Linked DNA regions of Homo sapiens: regions 2, 3 and 4 are each linked to region 1. The links are contacts of gene promoters, found by promoter capture Hi-C in blood cells and fetal thymus (Javierre and others, 2016). All regions are on one chromosome and are shown on one strand. The core of a region is centred on a gene start or on the middle of the fragment in contact, and the rest is flanking DNA. Distances in the headings are between cores, read along the strand shown.

Evidence for each region. The method cuts DNA at HindIII sites, captures the fragments that hold promoters and counts their contacts. A CHiCAGO score of 5 or more calls a contact.
Region 2: a fragment that was not itself captured here is called in contact with the fragment with the promoter of VAX1 in region 1 in 1 of 17 cell types (M1 macrophages); the score reaches 6.4 in M1 macrophages.
Region 3: a fragment that was not itself captured here is called in contact with the fragment with the promoter of VAX1 in region 1 in 1 of 17 cell types (M1 macrophages); the score reaches 5.2 in M1 macrophages.
Region 4: a fragment that was not itself captured here is called in contact with the fragment with the promoter of VAX1 in region 1 in 1 of 17 cell types (M2 macrophages); the score reaches 5.3 in M2 macrophages.

The regions. Positions count from the first base shown.
Region 1 is chr10:117,136,918-117,139,617 of GRCh38, forward strand. VAX1 (ventral anterior homeobox 1) reads right to left here and starts at 1,353. Exons shown (of 3, transcript NM_001112704.2): 1 at 899-1,353. The coding sequence starts at 1,139. The HindIII fragment of the contact is 11,137 bases long and covers 1-2,700 here.
Region 2 is chr10:116,883,921-116,886,620 of GRCh38, forward strand. SHTN1 (shootin 1) reads right to left here. Exons shown (of 17, transcript NM_001127211.3): 17 at 1-2,646. The coding sequence ends at 2,424. It also overlaps a transcript of ENO4 not described here. Among named protein-coding and RNA genes, the nearest start is that of ENO4, 36 kb to the left of the region's middle. The HindIII fragment of the contact is 1,178 bases long and covers 827-2,004 here.
Region 3 is chr10:116,939,947-116,942,646 of GRCh38, forward strand. It overlaps SHTN1 (shootin 1), which reads right to left. Exons shown (of 17, transcript NM_001127211.3): 9 at 520-666. Among named protein-coding and RNA genes, the nearest start is that of SHTN1, 64 kb to the right of the region's middle. The HindIII fragment of the contact is 1,356 bases long and covers 583-1,938 here.
Region 4 is chr10:116,901,438-116,904,137 of GRCh38, forward strand. It overlaps SHTN1 (shootin 1), which reads right to left. Exons shown (of 17, transcript NM_001127211.3): 16 at 328-520. It also overlaps a transcript of ENO4 not described here. Among named protein-coding and RNA genes, the nearest start is that of ENO4, 53 kb to the left of the region's middle. The HindIII fragment of the contact is 5,794 bases long and covers 1-2,700 here.

The sequences.
Region 1 (2,700 bases), core at 103-2,602:
CAATTCCACATAGGCGGACGTTTCTTCCGGCCTGGGGGGGCCTCGGCTGAGCCTTCCGGGTCCCCTGTAGCCTGAGGGTACCCTTGTCGCCCCGCCCGGGTCCTGCGGGCCCCAGCTCTGGGCTTGCCGACCAGACCGTGATCCAGACGTCCCCACCCCCACCCTCGAGTCTCCTTCCCTCCGGAGTCCGCGCGGCGGAAGGAGGAGGGACTGAGTCGGGGCCGGCCGGGCCCGGAGATCTGCTGCTGGCTGGGGCGGCGCCGGGCCGGGGCCCGGCCTCGCAGCCTCCGCCGCCGGGGCTAAGTGCACGCCGCGCCATCCGAGAGCGGCAGAGCAGAGCACCAAAGCGGCAACCGCGGCTCCGTAACCAAGCCCAGCTGCCTCTCCCGGCGGCAGCGGTCGGGCACCGATCGCGGCCGTGGGGTCCTCGGCCCAGTGCACTAACTGGCAGGGCCGTAGCCCGCGATCGGCAGCTGTTCTCCGGGGCTCGCGTTCCCCCTTGGGTGCGCTCAGCCCTCCAGAGCGCGGGAGTCCCCTGGCCGGCTCCCGGCAGGTCGTCCGGCCCTTGGAGCGCGCACACCTCCTCCCGGAGTTTTCTGCTCCTTTCCCGGGTCGGAGGCCGCAGCCCGATGCCCGGCCGCACCCGCGCAGCCCCTCATCTCCCCCCGCAGCCCGGTCAGCGGGGCCCCTCCGGGCGTGGAGGGCCGAGGCCCCTGGAGAGCGCACCGGAGAGTCCCAGGCGCTTGTCCCCAGCCGGACTCGGGGCGGGGAGGGCCAACAACTTTCTCCCAAGTCCCAGCCGGCACTCCTTCCCACCGGCCTGTGTCGGCGGCAGCGCGCAGCTCCGGCCCCGGAGTCGACCCCAAAGAACGCGCCTGGCAGCCCTGCCCATCCCTACCTCGGACCAGGATCCGGCGGCAGTAATCCGGGTCCGCTGCGGAATTGGATTTACTTTTGTTACAATCCTCAGCAGCGCCCGACGCTGAGAAGGCGCCCTGCGGCTCCTTGAGGAAGGCGGCTGGGAGGTTCCCCTCCGCGCCCTTGCTCTCCCGACTCTCCTTGTGCGCGTTCTTCGAGACCCGGGCAGCCTCGGCGTCCGAGTGGCATCGAACGTCCATTTTGTCTGGTTTCCCGAACATAGGCAAGAACAACAACAAAAACAGAAAGGAAAAAAAAAGCAAAAAAAAAAAAAAGGGGGGGGGGCGGAGAAGGAAAAAAAAAAGAGGAAAAAGGGGACAAAACCCCCGACAACGCGGCCCGTACGCCCGGCCCGGCGACAGGCAAGGGGCAAGAATGAATGTCCCCGCGGGGAGGCTTCGGCGGCCGCGCGCGGGTCAGCGGCGACGGGAGAGTGGCGCGCTCGCCGAGAGGCGGCCAGTCTGGTCCAGGATCCTGGTGGAGCTGCGGCGAGGCCGCCTCGTCAGCACCCGCGTCCTCTGAGCACGTCCAGTGTCCCCAGCCTGGCGATCAGGTAGCGAACAGCGCAACTCCGAAATGCTGCGGCTCCCGCCTGTTTCTGAGACGGCGAGTTGTAGTTGTCCGACACCCGGGGGGACGCACACTCGCTGTTGCAATTGATTACGGGTAATTTCGCAGCCCCCACGTTTCGGTTACCTCATGAATACACTAAATTGTTTGGATAATATATCAGATCGTAATGGATGGTTTCTGTCCTTGTCCCCAATCAAGTAGGGGTTTAGCCAGTGAATAAACGGAAATGATTGGTCTTGCTTTCAGGAAACACACAATCAAAGACCCACACTTCCAGAAAAACTTTTGACAAGATTCATCCTGAATTGTTAGTACCATTAGCAGGCATTATTAACTTTCCTTTTGCCTTTGACCCTCCTGCTCACATACTGGCTAGAGGGGTTTTCTCCACACTCGCCAGATAGAGCTGAATGAGGGTTGGGCGGCGGGGGGGTGTGGGGGGAGAAAAAAAAAACCCTGCGCACCCTGCGGCAGAAGAAAGCAGTTGTCTGGGAGTGGGGGATGGGGGACAGAGCGGGGGGAGAAAGTTTTCCCAAAAAGTATCTCCCTTGCACTCTAAAAAAGCCAAGATTTTCCCCTAAACAACTCCTTCTTAACACACCTCGACGCAGACAGCCATCTTAAACTGCCACCTCTCTTCATTTAGTTCCAGTTGGATTTTTTCATGCCTGCACCTCCAGCAGCCCTGAGGCAGCCCATTCAAAGGGCAGCTTTGTACTCAGAGTCCAGCAGGAGAGAGAGGGGGAGAGGGAGAGACGGCCGAGAAATCTCAACTGTGAGATCTGCTTCAAAAAAAAAAAAAAAAAGTTTTCCCCTAGCTATTTCATTGTCTCTGCTACAATATCTTTGAGAAAAGCAACAGCCAGTAATCCAATAAGAGCATTGATTAGGCTACAATGATTCAATTCAAGCGCATGGCCTTGTGCAAGGAGCATGCTCCAGCCCTTCTCGTCACCTTGCCGGGGCAGAAGCCCTCTCCACGCCGCTCTCCCCATTCATTCCTTTATGGGAAATGCGGAGCAAAAGGAGTGAAAGATGGCAATTATCTAATTGGACTATTAACAAACAGTCCTCTGAGTGCGGCGGTCTGGCGTGGCTCCTGGGCGGGGGAAGGGCCGTGTTCCCTGCCCTCATTCACAAAGAGTGCAGGGGCCGGGGAGGAAAGGGGTTTTTTAAAGGGGGTGGGTGGGGGGAGAGGAGAGGTGGGAG
Region 2 (2,700 bases), core at 166-2,665, 250 kb before region 1:
AAAAAAAAGAGACATTTTCTTTTTCTTTAATAGCAATGGCACAAAGTACCTCTATCTCTGTTCCTCACTCGGGCTATAAAATGCATCAACATTCGTTTTTCTTAAAGAAAAAAAATCCTCTATAGCGCACAAGACTTAATTTATCTTTCCCAAACAGAAGGAAGCATAAATAACCTTTTAGAGAAATCAAAAACATAAAGATGCAGTCTTTTCCAACTTAAAATTGTGTAAGCAGGACGTATGTAAGTTTTGTGTGTGCAATAGCTATGAACATACCTTGCAGATATAAGCACGGTTCTCCTATGTCTTCCTATTTGGGATCCCTTGCTTTGGTTGACAGTGTCACCCCAGCCAGGGGCAAAACCCCCTCAAAACCAAAGTGAAAAGGGAAAAACTGTAGGCAGAAAAAGGTGAGTGAATATCTTCCATCAAATACCTTCATGTCAAATTAATTTAAAATGCTTTGTAATCACAGTGAGAGAAAGTAAGCAGCTTAAAAAAGGCAGGAATACTTTCAAAATACCTGTTACTAATTGTTCCCTAGTCCAGCTAACACATTTCACCCAAAGGGCAACTTCTTACTCTAGAAAGGAGGGTATTTTGATAACCATATTATTCTGTGATGGTGTGATGAAATATGGAAAGACAGTGTACATATTTTTATATTCCTAAATGTGTGTGAGTTGCATGCTGGCAGACAGATCACAGATGCAAGAAGGAAGACAGCACAAAGAAACATGAAAGAAAACTCAATAAACCATCTTAGGGACTATTAAAAATTACTAAAGTTGTCAAATCATATACAATTTTCTATTAAAGAATGTCAAGCTTGGGGAACTAAACCAGAAACGTTAATAATAACCACAACTGACCCTTAATGGGAAACTATTGGTGCCTTTTTAATAAGTTGTGGTGAGGAGAGTTCAAATTACAGCATAACAGAATTCGTTTCGTGAATTAATGCAGTCTGTAGTAAGCATATCATATAGCAGTATTATCCAGTTAAAGAAAGATACAGTTGAAAAACATTACGTTTTAATTCTCCATGAGTAAAGTGATAAGTAACTATAAAATCATTATTGGGAGAACATGGAAACAGTCAAGCATAACGAACTTACAGAAAGATAATTATCTCCAAATTTAGGAAGTACATGTACCTGCCTACCCACCTCTTCAAGCCTATGCTTACCACACGTGCAAAAATACAATACAATACAACTACTGCAATTATTACTATCATTTTCTTTTGCCCTTAGGTGAAAAACACCTGACAGCTACATGCTGAGCCATGCTAACAAAACTAAACCTTTCACTTTCTTTAATAGTAAAATTACCATTACTGAATCATTGTCATAAAAAGTGCATTCAAGTACATTACCACTTATTTTAAATAAACACCAATTTTGAAACAATCAACTTTGAAAAGCTGCATAAGTTTTTTTTTTAATCCCTGATTACATTTCTATTTATTCACTGTGGTAGCCTGAAACATTGTATTTTTAGAGACTAACTACTGCTTAATTTCTTTTTTAAAAAAAACAACAACAAACCTGTGTAATATAGAACAGCAGTGAAGCAAGAAAAATGTGTGCTTGTCACTTATCTTCACCATACTGTACATAAGAACTCTGATAAAATATGGTACTTGTGCCACATTAGTATTTGGGAAAACATAATTAACTCATAGCACAGAGCACATGGTTTACCAACTTACTACTGTAAAATTCAAGGTTTGGACTTTCACCTCAGTTCTGTATTCAGGCTACCAGAGCATCCCCACGGAGGTCCTCGGGAGGCTTTGGACACAATCAATAGCATGTATTTTTCATCCAATAGTTAACAATGTGTGTAATTAACACTGACTATGGGACTACGAGTTTGATGCCAGCTCCTGAGTTTTCAGTTTATCTCAGTCTACTGTAGAAAATAACTTGTATGCCACAGTACCCAACAATTTCCATGCTGCTGCAGTTTCTCCATCAAGAGGATCAGACCCAAAACAGAAGCTTCTTTGGGGGCTTTTAAAATCACATTGGGTTGATCAGTTTTGTTTATCCGATTATATACAAGCACCTCAAACTTTCAGCATTCCATTTGATGAGTGGTATGCACATTTCCTAAAAAGGTATCAACATCTGAATTTTTTTGTAACCTTCTAAAAGAAGTCATACTTAATACAGTAACTAGGAAAAAAACCTCATCTTTATAAAGATCAAAAAACCAAAACCTACTAGGAATGTGTGTTTTGCTAAACAGCTTACTTATGTTTATAGTTGCTACTTACAAAAGTGACACCAGAAAAGAACCTGTATTCTGAATACAGTGACCAGAGCAGAATGTCTACAGCCCTTGCCAATATAACAACACTAATCATGTGCTTATTGAAAAGGACTTCCAAACATGTCAGGCTTCTGGTTTATGGATCAGCAGTTGGAGCTGTCTGTCTCTCTCACGTTTTCAATGCTGTCTTCTTTGTTTTCTGGTTGAATTTCGCCTTCATCCTCCTTGTGTTGAGTTGGATCTTTTTCAGCAACCTGGTCTTTGGTTTGGGGTTCATGTGTAGAAACAGGATCTAAAACTACAACTGGTTCGGCTTGTTTTTCACCGTCAATGTATTTTTTCCTGCATCCAATGCTACTGGGAGGCCTATGAGATGAAGAGTTAGACAAAAAAAGTAAAAAGCAGAGAGAGAAAATAGTT
Region 3 (2,700 bases), core at 11-2,510, 200 kb before region 1:
TCATCAAATTGAAATAATCACTTAGGAAGTCTTTAAACATACACATTTGTGCAAGTTTACAAAATCAAAAATTTTCTCTAAGCAAACAATTACTACTAATACGGACTGTCATTTTCTTTGAATAAAACCTATGCCCTCCAACAAGTGCTCTGAGTTGAATACAGCCTCTTAGTGTGTGCAGTCTCCAAAAAATATAACATTTCCAAAAATTGAATTTCCAGACTTTGCCTTATCCAAGCTGTTTTTAAGTTATACCTCTTTCCCTTGCTTCTTCCGACCCTTTGGACAGTTTAAAGATTATTATAAAGTCTATAATAGCGTATTACAAATTTCAGTTTCACAACATTAAGTTCATTTAGTTATTTTTTTCTAAAAGGTGGTTGAAAGCACTTAGTAACTAAGGCAAAATATGAAACAGTAAATGACTGGACTGACTGCACTGGCTCCCTTCATCTTAAATATATGTGTGTATGCATGTATGTGTGTGTGTACCTAAGATTCCAGAAGAAAATGGGTTACCTTTTGTTGATGCTGAATTCTCTCTTCTTCAAGTTGCTGGGTGAGTTTTGCATTTTCGTCTAAAGCTTTCAAAAGCTGCTGATCAGGGATGGAGCTCTGCAGCAGAAGGTGGCTTTGTCTCTTTAGCTTGTTTTGCTCAATGAACATCTGCAAAAGTTTGTTACAAGAATGTATATATCAATCAATCTCACATACCTCCTCAACTGTAACTTCAGCAAAAGAAAAGTACATGGAATTTTTATTAAATCATTAAAGGCAAATTCTGACTTCTATAAGTTTTAGAAGTAGTGATTGCTATGATTTCATTCCTTTTATATAATCTTTAATACCTTTACTCCTGCCCCAACAAGATATTTATACAATAAGCTGGTCTTACTCTTCAGTTTTTAATATTTTATTATTGCTTTAAGATACATTAATATTAATAGTAGTAGCTAATATTTCTCAAGAATTTACCTTGTGTACTCCACTAAATATTTTATATGGATTATTTTAATCCTTACATCAATCCTATTAAAGTGCTTCTACTATGAATAGGTAACATTTACTAAACACTATGTGATAGATATGGTGGGAATCATTTTACATTCATTATATCATATAATCCTTAAAACAACACTATCAAGTAGACACTACTATCATCTAATTTTACTAATAAGGTAACTGAGGCTCAAAGAAGTTAAGCAACTTTCCCAAGAACACACGTAAGTGACAAGACCAGGACTTAAACCCATATCTGATTTACATGCCCAAGCTCTTAACCATCTGGCTAAGTTCCTCTACTATTTGCTAGATCTAATGTTTTGTTTTAAACTAATTAGTTTCTCCCTAGTGATAAAAGTAGTTAACAGTAGAAGGGTAAAGGGGAGAAGGGAGACAGTATATTTTATTGAGCACTGTATTAAGCAATTTATATGTTATTCATCAAATCCTCACAACTTTACATGATTGAAAATAATATTGATTTCTATTTACCTGTTATTTCTTTTCCTTAACACTCTACCCAATTTGGCCAGTGAGTGATTCCAAGTATGAAATGTTTTTGTAAACTCTGAAATCTGGCCTACCAATTTTATAATAGAGCTTCACCTTTTCAGATTTTTAACAGCATTTTAAAATTTACATTATAACTTAACTGAAAGCTCTGAACTGCAAAATGATTTGCTAAAGCCCTCATATTAGTTTGTTCAACAACTTCACCCATCATGTAACAGAAAAAGTCAGCAAATAAAACTCAGGACAAAAATATTTTCCATCAACCTCCATGTGGCAAGACCACAGCTTTAATGATTTATACAATCCTTAAGCTCTTGATCAGTATCGACTTCCACATCAAAGTCAAGTCATGAATACAGTATACTAAAACACTAACATTTTCTTCCCAGTATGTCTTCCTATGAAAGGGAAAAAAAGGTCAGAAGCTTTCCTTCTTTGCCTAGGGATTTATGAAAAGCCTACAAAACTACGACAGGGTTCTTCTGCAGAATTAAAACACATTACAAAGTCAAACAGGTAAATAAACAATTGCATATACATGAAACCCACATTCTTCTTCCATTTGTGTGAGAGTGAGAGGTATAGAGACTGCAGTGAGGAAGAGTATGTGCATGTACACTTGGCTGGAGAAGGGTGAGATGCAGCTTCAGCATTCTAAGAAAGAGTAATCAATATTTCATCACAGTATCTTAAACTTCAGACCAGTGATTTAATTAAAATGAATTGTTTTGGGTGACCATTATGATTACAGTAATTTTTTTTTTTTTTTGAGATGGAGTCTCGCTCTGGCACCCAGGCTGGAGTGCAGTGGCACAATCTCGGCTCACTGCAACCTCTGCCTCTCAGGTTCAAGTGATTCTCGTGCCTCAGCCTCCCAAGTAGCTGGGACTACAGGTGCCTGCCACCATGCCTGGCTAATCTGTGTATTTTTAGTAGAGATGGGGTTTCACTATGTTGGCCAGGTTGGTCTTGAACTCCTGGCCTCAATTGATCCCCCCGCCTCGGCCTCCCAAAGTGCTTGGATTACAGACGTGAGCCACCATGCCTGGTCAAAAAATTTAATTATGTTGAAGAAATTTAAAATTTTAATATAGTTATGAAGACAACTGATAGTTTTCTTGTTGAGGGGGATTAAGTTTTTGGTTTTGTTTTTTAAATGAACTAGCGGGAGTTAAGAATGGGGGG
Region 4 (2,700 bases), core at 154-2,653, 240 kb before region 1:
TGATCGATGTATTTAATCTTGAAAGACTGATTGTCTCCTGACGCAGAGTCTGTATCATCCAGATCAATTATTTGTGTAGAAGAACCTGATTACCAAACCAGTTTAGGGGAAGTAATTCTCTTTGTACATGGTACTTGCTTTGGATCTGAATGAGATCTCTTAGCTAGGAGCCTAGAATGAAAAAGCTGGCCCATCAAATGAAAAGAAGAAGAGAATTTACCGGCGAGCCAATCAAAATCTCTCTAAAGGAAACAAATCAAAGAAACACACAAGTTAGTCATTACAGATTCTTCTATACACCACTTAGTAAAGAGCATCGTTACTTACTGAAACGTAACCTTGGAACTTGTGCATCCTTCCAATTTACGGGGCCCTTCACCTGGCTCAGGTGTTGGGGGGGACGGGCTGTTGAATTCTGCCTCCAGAGTTTTCTTGTTCAAGGCTGTTTTTGTTACACTGGATACAGAACCCAACACTGGCATGGATTTGGACTCTGAGGTGGCTAATATCCCAGTTGGACCTTAAAACCAAACACATACCTCAAGTTTAATAATTCTGTATGATGCTTATTAATATGGTACTGAAAAACAGATTAGCTGAAAATCCCTCAAGAAGTGAAAAGGCCAAGTTTGTTAAAATTTCAAGAGCATGCTGGAAAATGTTGTTGGAAATCTGCTCTGCTTTCGTGGTACTACTACATTTCAATCTACCAGGACCACGCTGAGAAATTGTGTACAGACCTTTAAGAAACCACAAAATCCCAGGCCACAATTCCCTCACTGACCAGGGTCCTTCGTAATACTGGAATTGTGGAAAGTCTTTTCCTCTCATAGAGTATGGCTTTCTGACAGCCCTACTCGAACCATTTCGCCTCTCAAGAGTTAATTCTTCCCAAAACTCAGTTCTGCATTTTAAACAGCAAATGGAACCATGTCAAAAGGCTCTAAAAGGCTCATGAAGGCTTCTTGAGCATTAAACAGTTTTTATGAACATTTTCATTTTAATGTGAATGAGAAGTAAGTGGATTTGTTTCCTCTTAAAACACAGACACAAAATCATAAAAATTAAGTGGGAAAGAGTTTGGCTATTTACCTTTTGGACTTTTCTGCTCTTTAGGACAGGATTTAAAAACCATAATAAAACTTGTTACTGGAATTATTGGCATATCAATCTAAAAATTCTGGGCATTGAAGCCAGTCCCTAATTTTAGGTGGAAAGATTCTATCCTAGTCAGTTTTTCTCAAAGCATGATTCTAGTAAGTGCTTCTTGAAACTTCAGAAGGAATGCTTTTAAAACAAAGATAAGTCACAAATATGCAAATTAAATGACTATTTCTAGAAATAAAGTGAGAGGATAACCTTGAAATGTGCCAGTAAGAAGAGCACAAAACTTGGGTGTCTCTTGGGTGTCTATCCCTAACAAATGTCAGATCATCTTAAAATGGAAAGCACTAGTGGGTATAATCCAAAATGCTAGCTAATCCCTGACCATTGGTATTAAGCTCTGGAATGCTATTCTTCCATTTGGATTTAATGTGCCTGATATACTCAGTATAATAGCGTAACATATCAACTCTAAAAATGAAGGTCTAATTTGAAAAACCTACCTAAGAGAGACTAAAAAATTGTGAACCCATTCTGTTGGACACCTCTCTGAGCCTTGCTCTATGCAGGTTACACAGGACCTCTCTGTTCTAGTGGAAGCCCCAGTTCACAAAGCATTAGTTTCTATCTTCCCCATTTAATTCACCTATACTCTCTAGGCAGACACGTTTGGACATTATTGGATATTTTGATCTAAAAGGCCTTTTCCGGCTGTACGTGGTGGCTCATGCCTGTAATCCCAGCACTTTGAGAGGCCGAGGCAGGCGGATCGCCTGAGGTCAGGAGTTAGAGACCAACCTGGCCAACATGGTGAAACCCTGTCTCTACTAGAAATCAGCCAGGTTTGATGGTGGGCGCCTGTAATCCCAGCTACATGGGAGGCTGAGGCAAGAGAATCGCTTGAACTCAGGAGACAGAGGTTGCAGTGAGCCGAGATCACGCCACTGCACTCCAGCCTGGGCGACAAGAGAGACTTCATCTCAGAGACAAAAAAAAAAGGCCTTTTCCTCCCAGCTATGTCAAGCCTCATGTTGCATGGAGCTGTGGCAGTTACGACAGAAGGGCAGAACAGAAAGATCAATTAATTTTAGAGTTCCTGAAAATATAAATACGAAGTTGAATTCAAGATTTGCTTCTGATCAGCTCTATTCTGCCCTTGGGTAAGCGTTGACTACAATACTAGTTAGCTTTAAACAATCTGTCCTTGTAAGAAAGATCTGCTTCTGAATACACCAACACATTTTCTGCAAAAAGGAAGGCAATTAGTGAGCTAAGCTACAGCTCTTATATTTTTCTTATATACAAAAAGACATTTTAAAAAATGTACACCGTTTAAGAGTATTATTATTGCATCCTGTTTAAGCCACCCAGTGTTCTCCAAGAGGCACTTGCTGCTCTTTGAAATGTCAGTTTGGTAGGACACAAGGCTAGGTAAAACAAGGGAACATTAGTTAAATGCCTAAGAAAAATCCTAAGGAAAAGGGTACAACATCCTTTGTCCCTGGGGCAGATAACCATTAACCTGAGATCTTAGCTCTGCAAACTCTCAGGCTGTCTCTCTTCTGATGTTTCCTTTCTCTACTTGTGACTTCACAT